Regions from separate parts of the Homo sapiens genome. Here region 1 is linked to region 2. The links are contacts of gene promoters, found by promoter capture Hi-C in blood cells and fetal thymus (Javierre and others, 2016). All regions are on one chromosome and are shown on one strand. The core of a region is centred on a gene start or on the middle of the fragment in contact, and the rest is flanking DNA. Distances in the headings are between cores, read along the strand shown.

Region 1 (7,123 bases), core at 3,047-5,546, 360 kb before region 2:
GGCTAAATGTTCTATGTGCTATATCAGATGGCATAACTCATGTGGTTCTGCAGTAACAAACAATCCCTAAATCTTAATTGCTTAAAGCCACAAGGTTTATCTCTCTGTCATGCCACATGTCCACTGTGGGTTGACTAGGGTAGAAGTAGGAGGCCAGGGCTGCTTTGTATGTCTTTACTCTAGTACTCGGCCTGACGAGGTACCTACTATCTCAATCATTGCTCTTTGCTGTAGCAAAGGAAAAAGAGAACATGAAGAATTGTGCTCTGACTCTTAGAGTTTCTTTCCAGAAGTGACACAAGTCCTAAGACATTGGCTAAAGCAAGTTTCACGACCTAACTTCAGGGGGTGGTGGGGTGGGGGAAAACGTGCCATCCTATCGTGTAACTAGAAACAGGAAGGACCTGAAATATTCTCTCACATGTACACTGTATCTTATAGCTATGATAGCCCTCTGAAGTGGATATTATATAGCTGACTTACCTGAGGCTCAGCGAGACTTAAAAACTTCCTAGGTCACCCAGCCAGTAAGAGAAAGAAGAAGTTGTTGTCTCTCTAACATAAAAATCTGACTGCTTAACCTCCACACTTGGTTTTTCTTTGACACCGAATAAAAGGAAATAAAAATAAAATTTCTGCAATAATTTAACAAGGTCCTATACGAAAGAATTGTAACAAATTCAGTTACCATGTGATTAAGGGTGAGCTTTGAGATTCAGTGTTGTAAAGATAGGAAACCAAAGGCATGAATAAACGGGAGTTTTTATGCTTTTATGTATCACCAGTTTTAAAGCTTTTATGTGTTTTCCATAAAGTTAAATCTCGAAGTTGCAAGATAACACAAAGCACTCTGAGTTTTTAAATGTCCCCATGGATAAAGATGATAAATTATAGGAAGCAAAATCAGAAATGTTTCTGATACACTTTATTGTAAGCAAACATCCAGTAAAGCAGTTAGGGGGAAATAAGAATAATCTGAAGTATTGATTATAAGTCAGGAAGTGGGATGAAGAAATGTACTCAGTGTAAAACTGTGGTCTAGAATTTTACAAAAAGCTTAACATGCTCCCTGGATTAAGAATAATATTGGAAATAGCAATTAGATATTGCATTAAGCTGTGAGTAACTGAAACCTAAAAAAAATTGTAGTTTAACATGTAAGGATTCTCTTAAGATCCTTTTATGGTTCTACTCCATCATGAATTCCATCTTCAAGGTCACCTTATGAACCAAGATGCTACAGAAAGCATCTCTATTGTGTTGCAGCCAATTGACTGAGTCAACTCTCTTCAAAAAAACATCAAGGATATTTAGTACAGTGTGCCCCTTTGCATCTCGCAGTGTAGAATATAATCACAGCAGCTGCAAGGCAGGCTGGGAAATGTAGTTTTTAATCTAGGTGTTGCTGTACCCAGCTTGCAGGTGGGCTCCTGTGGCTCAGGAAGGTTAAGAGGAGTATTGAGAGGCAGCCTCAATTTCTGTATTTCCAGCCCCTAGCAAGGTACCTGGCCTATTGACAGTGCCCAGTAAATGGTCAGGGACTGAAGGTTTTTAACAAACTTGCCTAAAATAACTCATTCCTGTTGGCCTTACTTGTCTTTGAATCTCCAACCTTCCTTTGAGACTTGGGTCTGACCTCTGTTCAACCTGTTGCTTCTTAGGAGGACTTCATTTCCTGTCTGTCTCTACTTTTGTCCATTTCAGTGTTTTTCCCATCATTCCCTTCTTTATTTCCCCTCACTGCCATCTTTATTTCTCCTCACTTCCATGGGTTTTTGTTAGCCAAAGAGCTCTGTAACTGTGGCTGCAAAGAATAATTGAAGAGATGGAATAAAAAAAATGCCCAAGGAAGCTCATCAGTATAAAATCCTTAGTTTTTTTCTTCTTTCAATAACATACTTTAGACCATAATTATCAGGTATCTATTCAGTTTTCTCTTGTATTATTTCACGTTCTTTTCTATTTTTAAGCCAGCAGACACAATTTTCTATTTTTTAAGTCAGTAGACAATTTTGCCACACAAAATTGTGTGTGACTTTATTAATATCATGAAAATGGAAATATATAAAAGGGCATATAAATATTAATATACATGGTCTAATACATATTGTTTTGAGAAAACAAGAGTATTTTATGAATCTAATATTTTCAATACCATCTTAAAATCTGAATTAGGGGTTTGAAATATATTTGTATTCAGAAATGAAAATTGTTTTAGCAATTAAAAATTAAACATATTTTAACTTTTAGAACCCTGGATATGCTGGGCGCCAGGAACTACCAGAAAACCTAAAAATCCAGTTTAGAACTGTTGCTATGATGGTTCCTGATAGACAGGTATGCACTAGGATTTAAAAGCATAATGTGCTTTATGTTCTTTACTTGTTTTTCACTAAAGTTGAAAAAAACTCACTATATTAATTTTCAGATCATTATGAGAGTTAAACTTGCAAGCTGTGGTTTTCTTGAAAATGTTATCTTGGCTCAAAAATTTTACGTTCTTTACAAACTCTGTGAAGAGCAACTTACTAAACAGGTAACTTTATAGATCTGCTTTCCTCCTAGCAATAGTATTTGGTTTTTTTGCTTTGTAATTTTCCCTTGATAAATACTCATCAGTGAGTTAAAATCTCATTGACTCTTTTCTAAAATGCTTTTAGAATTAATTTTACCTATTGGTTGTGTATTTTTAAGACCCTTTTATTTTGAAATAATTGTAGATTCACAGGAAGTTGCAAAGGAATGTACAGGGAGGCATGTACCCTTCACCCTGCCTTGCCTGGTGGTTGACATCTTGTAACTGTAGCGCAATAACAAAACTGGAAATGGACACTGAAGCAGTCCACAGAGTTTAAGGTTTCATCAGTTATACATGCACTGGTGTGTGTATATGTGTGTGTGTGTGTGTGTGTGTGTGTAGTTGTATGGAATATGTAAGATACGGCTCTGTTCCATCACCACAAGGTTCCCTCATGCTACTTTATAGCCACACCCACCTCTCTCCCAAATCCCTAACCCATTAACCTTTTCTCCATGTCTAGAATTTTATTGCAAGAATGTTATGTAAACGGAATCACATAGTATGTAACCTCTTGGTTATGCATTTAAAAATCTATTGTTTGGGCCGGGTGCCGTGGCTCACGTCTGTAATCCCAGCATTCTGGGAGGCCGAGGCGAGTGGATCATGAGGTCGGGAGATCGAGACCATCCTGGCTAACATGGTGAAACCCTGTCTCTACTAAAAATACAAAAAAAAAAAAAAATTAGCCAGGCGTGGTGGCACGCGCCTATAATCCCAGCTACTGGGGAGGCTGAGGCAGGAGAATTGCTTGAACCCGGGAGGTGGTGGTTGCAGTGAGCCGAGGTCCCGCCACTGCACTTCAGCCTGGATGACAGAGTGAGACTCCATCTCAAAAAAAAAAAAAAAAAAAACAAAAAAGAAACTATTGTTTGTTGCTCAGACTGTATCAGACTATATTATTCTCAAAAGATATTTAAGGTGTGAATACTTACTTGATCTTGCAGCTTGGATTTTCCCATGGAATGATCATATTTCAGTCAAAGGAAAGGCAGGAAGTTGAGCTAATAAACCTTTGTGGCTTAGTCACCCCAAAACTATCCCATATAAGTATCAGAATCGACCTATATGCATAGAGTGAGCCGTGAGTCTATGTTTAGTTTTTCAATTAAACCATCTTTTTGCCCTCTTCTCCCATCTCAGGTTCATTATGACTTTGGATTGAGAAATATTCTGTCTGTATTGAGGACTCTTGGATCTCAAAAAAGAGCCAGACCAGAAGATAGTGAATTAAGCATTGTCATGAGAGGACTAAGAGATATGAACCTTTCCAAACTGGTATCTTCTCTGAATTCTCTTCTTTTCCACAATTTTAATATTGTTTCTTTCTATTTGGTGGACAAGTAGAGGTAGGCTGATGTTGAGCTGTGAGCACCCATAATTACAGGGATAATAAGTGTGCAAAGCTACCACTGTGCTTCCAGAAGAAAGCAAAAGACCCCATGACCTGTGTGACCAACATGGACTATAAGTGCCTCCTTTTATCAGCTGTGTGCAGTGAAACAGGTCATCAGTGGGCTTCAGCTCCAAGACTCAACCTAGTTGTCTACCATTATTCACAAAGTGACACAAATTCTCAGCATAAGAATCTGGATTCACAGGGAACCATGAGAACTTTTTGCTTTCTCTGTATGTGACTAGCTTATCTCAGATATATCTCTCCCAAAACATAAACATCATTTCTATTTTCCAAAAACACATTGAAAATTTGCTGTGGAGAGCATGCTGCTTTCATGCTTGTCATGGTTACAGCCTGATTTTTTTTTTTTTCTTTGAAACAGACTCTCAGTCACCCAGGCTGGAGTGCAGTGGTGCAATCTTGGCTCACTGCAACCTCCTCATTCCAGGCTCAAGCTATTTCCCTGCCCCAGCCTCCTGAGTAGCTGGGACTACTGGCACACACCACCATGCCTGGCTAATTTTTGTACTGTTTTGTAGAGATAGGGTTTTGCCATGTCACCCAGGCTGGTCTCAAACTCCTGGACTCAAGTGATCCACCCCACCTCAGCCTCCCAAAGTGCTGGGATTACAGGCATAAGCCACCAAGCCCAGCCCAGCCCAGCCAGGTTGTTTTGAATAGCTGATGGACAGGTTCATGTGACATATAAGGATTTCTACATGCCACATATTGTGCCCATGCCATGGGTGTACAAAGTTGAAGAAGAAGTGGTTCAGGAAGCTACATTCTAGTTACAAAAACTAACATCTGTGGAGTTCATTAGTGTTACAAAGTCTTTTCAGGTGTATCGTCTTATTTGAGCCTCACAGCAACTCTGTGGGGTCTGGATGGCTAGCTTGTTTATTGTCACTTCACTTATTGGGGAATGGAGACTAGAGGTTGCAGGATTCCCCCATAATCACCATCAGCTGAGAAGAGGGGACAAAAATTTATAAGATTTTCTGGTGCCAAATCCACTGCTCCTGCCAGTATACCTCACTGCCTGTATGACCAACATGGACTGTAATGGAGGCTTAGACTCCCTAAGTCACCCAGGCTGGAGTGCAGTCTAAGCCTCCCTTAGATAATGGTATTTTGGAAATTCCTAGACAAGTACTCAAGAAAGCATCAGCAAAGCCCTAGAGAATAAAGAGAAATCATAAGGGGTCAGATGTTGGGAACAGGGCAATCTATGCATTAAAGACATTGCAAGCAAGGATTGGAGTCAGTGTACTCAAACCTACTGCTTATAAGAAAGGCTCAGAACACTGCCCTGATGGACTTTTGCAGCCATTGTTGGATGAAGTCATGCAGGGTTATGGCTATTTCCCCAATTTAAATAAAATATCCGTTCTTTAATTTCATGGGGTTGGGACTACAAATTATCATTTTTAAGGTTAATGCAAATGCCACTGTGAGAAGCAAAGATTCATGTGATAAAGTAATGAGGTCGTACTTTGGAGCAGTAGACTGGGGCAGGATTGTAGAACACATTGAATGCTAACGAACTTTGGGTACAATATAGATTCAGTGGTGATTGTATTAGTCTGTTCTCACACTGTTAATAAAGACAATTTATAAAGGAAAGAGGTTTGATGAACTCACAGTTCCACATGGCTGGGGAGGCCTCACAATCATGCTGGGAGGTGAATGAGGAGCAAAGTCACGTCTTTACATGGCGGCAGGCAAGAGAGCATGTGCAAGGGAACTCCCGTTTACAAAACCATCAGATCTTGTGAGACTTATTCACTATCATAAGAACAGCAGGGAAAGACTTGCCCCCATGATACAATTACCTCTCACTGGGTCCCTCCCACGACACGTGGGAGTTATGGGAGCTACGATTCCAGATGAGATTTGGGTAGGGACACAGCCAAACCATATCAGTGATATTCTGGAGAAAGTACTAGAGAATACAAGCCTGATTAGGAGAGTAATAAATGGTTCTCTGGGGATGAAGTGATAAGTACTATGCACATCCCAGCTAGCTGATAAATGTTTGTTGACTGAATGAGTAAATTTATTTTAAACTATGCCACCTTAGGTTGATGAAGATGAACCCCTGTTCCTCAGCTTAATCAATGACCTGTTCCCAGGACTGCAACTGGATAGTAATACTTATGCAGAACTGCAAAACGCAGTAGCCCATCAGGTTCAGATAGAGGGTTTGATTAACCATCCACCCTGGAACCTGAAACTCGTGCAGGTAAAGACATTTTAATCTATTATTAGTATAATGATAAGTATGTGTTAAACATTCCTGTCTGAATAGAAAAACTCATAGTTAGTCTTACTTGATGTAAATGTTAAATGAAAACATCATATATACATCATTGCAAAAAGAATACTTGGAAGGATGTGGTGGTCCTAGGAAGATAGTATGGATTTACCCTGCCTCACAGTAATCAAGCAGTAATTTACTGCAGTTTTTACTTATACCTGGTGACAATGTTGGGCGGAAATAGTAGGTTATAAAAACTCTAGGGGAACGGAACAACGCAGATGTCTTCTTGTGCCAATCTGATAGTACTGGCTGCAGCTGGGTGCCTCAGTGGAGTGCAGAGCCTGAGGAATCTGGGAGTGCTATTTTGCTCCTGCTTTGTGTGTGGACATGTTATATCCTTCACCTACACTAAAACCTGAATCTTTTGACTGCATATGTTGGTGTCTTTCTGTTCATCACATTTCATCCTTGTGACAACCATCTAACCACTTGATTGGATTACCAGTAGAATCAAGAACTTGTAGCAGAGACACAGGATTAAATCTCTATGAGCTTGATGCTTTGGGAATATTTTCCAGAGCTTTTGGAAAATTAAGGAGCTGAAATTGTGGACATTGTTGAAAACTGCATTTGAAATATTAATATAACGATTCTTATTTTAACTTACTGTTCTTGCCAGATTATAAGATGTGCAAGTATCTGAGATACATCCAAATCTTACAAAGAAATATGTGCATGGGGGAAAAGTCTTTTTCATCATTCATGTACTGGAAACCATTTTAAGAGTTTAAAAAATTTCTGGGAAAACATGATTTTATATATGATATGCATACAGTATACTGAGTTTTAAAATTCTTGCCATCTCAATGGGTGGCGACTAGAA
Region 2 (6,409 bases), core at 1,337-3,836:
ACTTATCTATAATAGCCTCCAAAGCAGACTGGCTTGATGCCCAAGTCCTTTTTCTAAAAATTACCTGCCCATTACTTTTTTTTGGTAGGGGGGTAAATGTTGACAGATTTAACAGGACTGCTAAATAAGAGGCATTTTGTTTGTTCAAATACCTTAAGAAGCCGTCTAGCCTCCAAAGCTATGACCACCAGCTGCACCCGGCTGCCTAACCCCTGGACCCCGCCCCCCCCGCCGTATGCCCCGCCAGCCTTTCCCTTTGCCTTGTGTTTTGAAGTTTATTTTCCCACATTTAGCCTTGAATTCTTTCCTTCCTTCCCCTGCAGTGTTGGAGCAACAGCTTAGAGGGAAACACTTCGAGGGCAGCTCAAGGCTTTATCATCCTTGCCTGCCCTCTTCCCCCTCTAAACAAAGCCCTGGAACAAACTAAACAAAAACTTGTTCTCTAGAGGAATTGTTTCCTCAAGGGAAATCATAAAGCAACCCCCTCCCCACAACACACCCCCCAGGGTAGACGCCCATCAGAAGGAAGCCATGTAGACTCTTCATGCCAGGACTCTTGCTGTTAGGAGGTAAACCAACCAACCATCTACTGAAGCTTATCCTCCCCACCATCACCTCCCATCTGCCTCTACCCGGGAAACTGCTACAGGGCAAGAGACTCTCCACTAAAATCCAACACTAAGCCTGCTAGACTAAACCTCCCCTTCTACAGGACCCCTTGGAGGACAAGTCTCCCCACACACGGCTGCCAGCAAATACGTATATGCTTATCTGTGTGATGTCCATCAATCTGGGGACAAGATTTTGATGTTTTCCAAATGCTTCCAACCTAACAGTCCGTGGCAGAAATAAGGAATGAGGATGGGCTCATTCCCGTTTCTCACATGGGGAAACGGAGGCTGGAAAATGAGCGACGACTAGATAGGCATAAAGTATTGAGGTGCTGCTGTAGACTAAACGTTGCTTCTCATCAGACCTCCTTTCTGGCATCTTTCACCCTGAGAGCAAGGTAACACCCTGGACAATCTACCCCTACTCCCTACCTGCTGCAATCTAGAACTTTCACCCAGGTCCTGGTCATTCCACTGGGGGAGCAGGCCAAGAAGAGTTGATGGTTGAAGCTGAGCCCTCGAGAAACTGGGGTAGAGGGCCTCGGTCCCCAAATGGGCCCCAAGGTCTCAGCCAGGATAGGCAGCCCGTTTATCCAAAGTGAGGTCAATGCCACCCATCGGGCTGTGCACCAGAAAATAAGCGGTTCCCAATGTCAGCACGGAGGGAAGTCCCCCACCCACCCCAATTCCGCACACACTCTCCTCCCCCATCATAAAGGGACTACGCGGGTATTATTCGTTTGTGCAACCTGCTACTTTCACAAAGTTTTACTCCAAGCCCTTGAAGGATGTCTCCGCGAGATAAGCCTTCCCGGAAGCCTGAGCGCGTCCCCAGCATTCCAGGCACCAGCCCTCATCCCGTGGGTTCGGGCCCCACAGAGCCTCCAGCTCCTCTCCGGAACTCTGCTGGGGGCGGAAGATTTTGCCCAGGCTCGGGCTGAGGGACCCTCCCGCCACTCTGCCGGGTTCACGTTCCTTAAGAAAAGCCTGGCAGGCGTGGCACTGGCCCTGGAGCGGGGAGGTGGAGACACGAGGGGATGGCACCAGGCTTGGCTCCCAGACTCCGGGAGCGTCTCCAGGGAAAGATAAACGCCTTTATCCGTCCCACAGCCTCTTCCCAAGGAGGGAGGTACCGTCACACCCACACTGAAACACCGTGGAGCCTAGTTCACCCGGGAATCAACTCCAATTTGTCTCCGGCCAAACTAAGTTCCAAAGAGTCTCCGCGCCTGGGGGACCCCTGTGTCCCTCGGGTGAGCGACAGATCCTCGAAGCCTGACCCATGATGAGACACGCTCTCTCATCACCCCCTGGACCTTCCACAGGGACTGAGGGTCACCCAAAGCTGTGAAGGGGTCTTCCTTTCAGCGCCCCCTAAAGCTCAAGCCAGCTTCAGATGTATATGGGGGTACAGGCGGCGACTGACCTCTAGGATCTTGTCCAGGCCCTCCTGACCCAGGCACGGGAACTCCTTGAGCAGATGCAGCTTCTGTGTGTAGTAGTTTTTCTTGGCCTCCTTCCAGTGTGGCTCCTCCAGCACTTCGAAGATCGCCGCCCCGATGGCCAGGTAGAAGATGATGGCCGAGGTGAGCAGAGGGCCCCGGTCCACCATGGCTCCCGAGCGGCCGCCTCCTAGAGAAAGCCTCTCCTAGCCCCAGCTGCTACCAGTCCGCCCGCCCTCCAGCCTCTGAAAACAGCTGTTTGAATTTGGAGCTCCGCATGCGCAGTGCCCGGTACTCACCCCCCGCAAGCACCGCTCCCCGGACAGAGTTGCTTGGCCAAGTTGGCCCACGGAGTGCGGGGAGCTGCGTGGGGCCCCACTCACGCGGCCCGGGGTGGGCGAACACCAGCGGGGCTGAAAGGGCGCCCTGGACCGCGGATGCGTAAGGAGCGGGAAGAACACAGGACTTGACTCTGGGCAGACACGTGGGCCGCTTCTCCACGCGTCGCTCCTCCGCGCGCCACTAGCAGTATGCGCCGCGCCCGCCTCCGCACGCCTCTTTAACCAGCGCCCGGCGCGCTCTGCCCCCTTGCTCCGGGCTCCGACCGGGGAGGAGCCCAGGCGGGCCCCGCCCCTTCCCCGCACAAGCAGCCCGGCGAGCGCAGGAGTGAGCGCGAGGTGAGCGCTAGAAGAGGCTTGGCGCTCCCCGCGCTCCCAGGGTCAGCCGCCAGGGGAGGCTGCGCCGCCCGCCCAGACCTGCACGCCCTGCGGTGCCCGAGGGGTTGCGGTCTCAGGGACTCGTGTTTGTTATTAGGACTGGCGTGTTAACTAAAATGATTGTGACTGAGGTCAGGAGTTTATTGCTTTTGTTATTTTTATTGTAATTCCATTTTCATTTACTGATGTTTCTTCCAAAAAAGTCTAATGCTCAGTCTCTCCGTGTCTCTCTTCCACACACTTTCTTGTAAGCCTGAGGAAGGGGGTTAGAACGGGGCTGAAGAAGCTGTAGGGAATCAGAGGACATCAGGAACTAATCCAGCCACCCACGCGTGATTCCTCCCCCTCACCCCGTTCTCACCTACCCGGGTGAGAACCCTGCATCTGGAAGGAGTGGGCAGCTCAATTCGTGGCACCCCTGTGCGCCCCCCCAATACACAGTATCTCTACGGGAAACACTTGGCCTCTTTTCTTTTTTTCTTTTCTCTTTTCTTTTCTCTTCTCCTTTCCTCTCCTTTCCTCTTTTCTTTCAGACGGAGTCTCACTCTGTCGCCAGGCTGGAGTGCAGTGGCACTATCTCGGCTCACTGCAACCCCCGCCTCCCGAGTTCAAGCAGTTCTTCTGCCTCAGCCTCTCAAGAAGCTGGGACTACAGGCGCACGCCATCACGCCCAGCTAATTTTTGTATTTTTAGTAGAGACGGGGTTTCACCGTGTTGGCCAGGCTGGTCTCAATTCCTGACCTCAGGTGATCCGCCCGCCTCAGCCTCCCAAAGTGCTGGGATTACAGGCGTGAGCCACCGCGCCCGGCCCACTTTCATACATATGCTCCAGCTGATTTAAAATTCCACCCCCGCCACCTTATCTCCCTCGTTGGCTTTATGTCCTTCCTAGTACTAAATTCCCTCTGCTATATTATATAACTTTATTTATTGTTTACTCTGTATTGTGCCCTCTCCCCGCCACACACACACAGACACACACACACACACACACACACACACACACACACGGAAATGTCTGCTGGGGAGATGGAGAATCTGTCTTGTGTAATGATGTATCCACAGTGCTTGTTACATACATAGCAGACACTCAATAACCATGTGTGCAATGAAGGAGTGAATGAATTTGTTAAAAACAGGTGCCCAGGATGTTTCTAACTCGCCTTGCTGCCATTCTCTGAGCTCTTGTAAACCCCAGGAAGTACTGAATCCCTTCCATGCATCATAAGCAGGCCCTGTCATTCGACCCACTTTGCAGTGAGGAAAAAAGCTCAGTGGGTTAGTTTGTTCAGTCTTTCAACCAGCACCAGTCAGAAGTTGGAGGGGGAACCTCCTTTCAGTGCTCTGTACCAGGGGCTGGCCCTGCCCTTCTCTGGCCTCTGTAGGGGCAGGTACTGGAGTGGCCAGAGTCCCTGAGCACTGTCCCCTGGCCAAGGCCTTTTCTTTCCATCGAGAAGAAGGGGAGTCATTTCTCACCTCCTACCCACCCTGTACCCAGGCTGTGGCCTGAACCCCAAGGTGTCAAGAGACACTTTACTTGGGGAGGGGGGTATCTGTACTATCTCCAAATCTGGCTGGAATGGAGGGGTTAGGGATACAGTTGGAAGCATTGATCTGATTTTGCTGATGTTTCTGTCTCTCCTTATGGCAACATGAGCGTGTCCAGAGAAGAAGACCAGAGCAGGAAGCTGGGGAGCCCCAGATTTCCTGATACTGCATCCCTGAGGTGTGCAGTGCCAGTCCCCTCAGGACCCCCCTGGCCAAGGATCATCCTGGACAAGGCCCTGGGGGTGCTTCTCTGTAGACAACCCACTCCCAGCACCAGGCCTCTCACCCAACCCAACATATCCATCTTCTCTAAGCCTTGCTGACCTCCTGCCTACCCTGTCCCCCAGGCTGTGGCCTGAACCCTAGCTCTGCAGTCTCATTCTCCAGCCCTCCAGCTGGGATGGAAACCAAGCATGGGTTCCGGATCCCCCCTCTCTGGATGGAGTTCACCCTGTTTGTGAAGAGTTCAGGGCTGCAGTGTGAACGCTTCAGTGAGCATGGGGTGGGGGCAGTTTGAGAGGCCACAGGCCCTCTCTTTGTTTGGAAAATTCCCTACCATTCCTCTCCCACCTCCGGTCTGTGTTCTCTTCCTAAGAAAATAAAGGGCCTCTTCCTATTTCGGTCTCACAGCCTCATGAAAATGCTGAACACTTTGAGATGAATTGATTTTTATTCGAGGCCTCTGTATGTTGTAGTTTCTTTGTCCTTCCACTCTGTTTCTGCATTTCCTGTCCCCTTCTTCCTTCTTGCTCTCCATGTGGTGCTGACTGACTCCTCATCCTCTCCTTCTGTCGCCGCATCCTTTGCTTTCCTGTATTTTTCCAAAGCTCCTTCCCCAGCTCTTCATTCTCCCTCCTCCTGCCTCTCTCCTTTGTCTCCATCCCAGTTGAATGTGCTTCCCCTCCCCCAACTTCCCCTCCCCTCCCCATCTCCCCACTCCCCTCTCCAACTCCCCTGCCCCAGCCAGATAGTTGGATCAACTTGACCTTCTGTAGATCAGGGGCACACACCTGCTCTCTGCACAGCAGCCAGTGGGGGCTTTTATAAAATGTAAACTGTGCTGAAACTATCGAATATTTAGACAACACGAGCCTTAAGATTGGAAAAGGGAAAAGTGGGTAAATGGGAATGAGGTGATGTGAGATATATATTTTCCTACAGGGCTGATAAATAAATCCATTCCAATAGCATACGTGTAGTTCTTAGTATTATGATTATTGATCAGGGTTGATAATAATTTCAGAGTGCAACCTTTTGGAAGGCAATCAGCTCTGAGGAATGTAAACCAACAATAAAATTCTAGGCCCCTCCCAAGCAAGCAAATGGACCCTTCCTCTTGACCAAGGGCATTCTCAAGTAAACACAAAACACTAGTTCAGGCCATGATGGAATGGGTGGTTGGACATGGCTCCTTTTTTTTTTTTTGAGAGGGCGTCGCACTCTGTCACCCAGGCTGGAGTGCAGTGGCACAATCTCAACCCACTGCAACCTCTGCCTCCTGGGTTCAAGCAATTCTCATGTCTCGGCCTCCCAAGTAGCTGGGACTACAGGCATGAGCCACCACGCCCGGCTAATTTTTTGTATATTTAATAGAGATGGGGTTTCACCATGCTGGCCAGGCTGGCCTCAAACTCCTGACATCAACTGATCTGCCCACCTTGGCCTCCCATAGCACTGGGATTACAGGTGTGATCCAAAGCGCCCAGCCGACATGCCTCCTTATAACTTCCTCCCTTTGGAATTCAGGCACAGCTGACCAGCATTAATATTAAAACAGAGACCTTAAGGCACAACCTGGCCAACATGGTGAAACCCTGTCTCTACTAAAACTACAAAAATTAGCTGGGCGTAGTGGCTTATGTCTGTAATCGCAGCTACTCAGCAGGCTGAGGCATTAGAATTGCTTGAACCCGGGAGGCAGAGGTTGCAGTGAGCCGAGATGGCACCATTGCACTCCAGCCTGGATGATAGAGACTCCATCTCAATAAAAAAAAAAAACAAAAACCCAAAAAACAGAGACCTTAAGACTGACAGTACAGACTCTTTGTAGCAATAAGAATCATGACAGCAGGCCCTGAGAGAAATCGAAGTA

Evidence for each region. Contacts are between HindIII fragments. The CHiCAGO score rates a contact against its expected background, and 5 or more counts as called.
Region 1: a fragment that was not itself captured here is called in contact with the fragment with the promoter of KCNK5 in region 2 in 3 of 17 cell types (naive CD4 T cells, naive CD8 T cells and fetal thymus); the score reaches 6.5 in naive CD4 T cells.

Annotation. Positions count from the first base shown.
Region 1 is chr6:38,864,341-38,871,463 of GRCh38, forward strand. DNAH8 (dynein axonemal heavy chain 8) reads left to right here. Exons shown (of 93, transcript NM_001206927.2): 46 at 2,251-2,337; 47 at 2,429-2,536; 48 at 3,722-3,856; 49 at 6,061-6,222. Among named protein-coding and RNA genes, the nearest start is that of DNAH8-AS1, 85 kb to the right of the region's middle. The HindIII fragment of the contact is 6,485 bases long and covers 1,055-7,123 here.
Region 2 is chr6:39,226,889-39,233,297 of GRCh38, forward strand. KCNK5 (potassium two pore domain channel subfamily K member 5) reads right to left here and starts at 2,587. Exons shown (of 5, transcript NM_003740.4): 1 at 2,038-2,587. The coding sequence starts at 2,223. RefSeq lists silencers at 1,265-1,334, 2,348-2,427, 2,528-2,877 and an enhancer at 3,165-3,892. The HindIII fragment of the contact is 7,595 bases long and covers 594-6,409 here.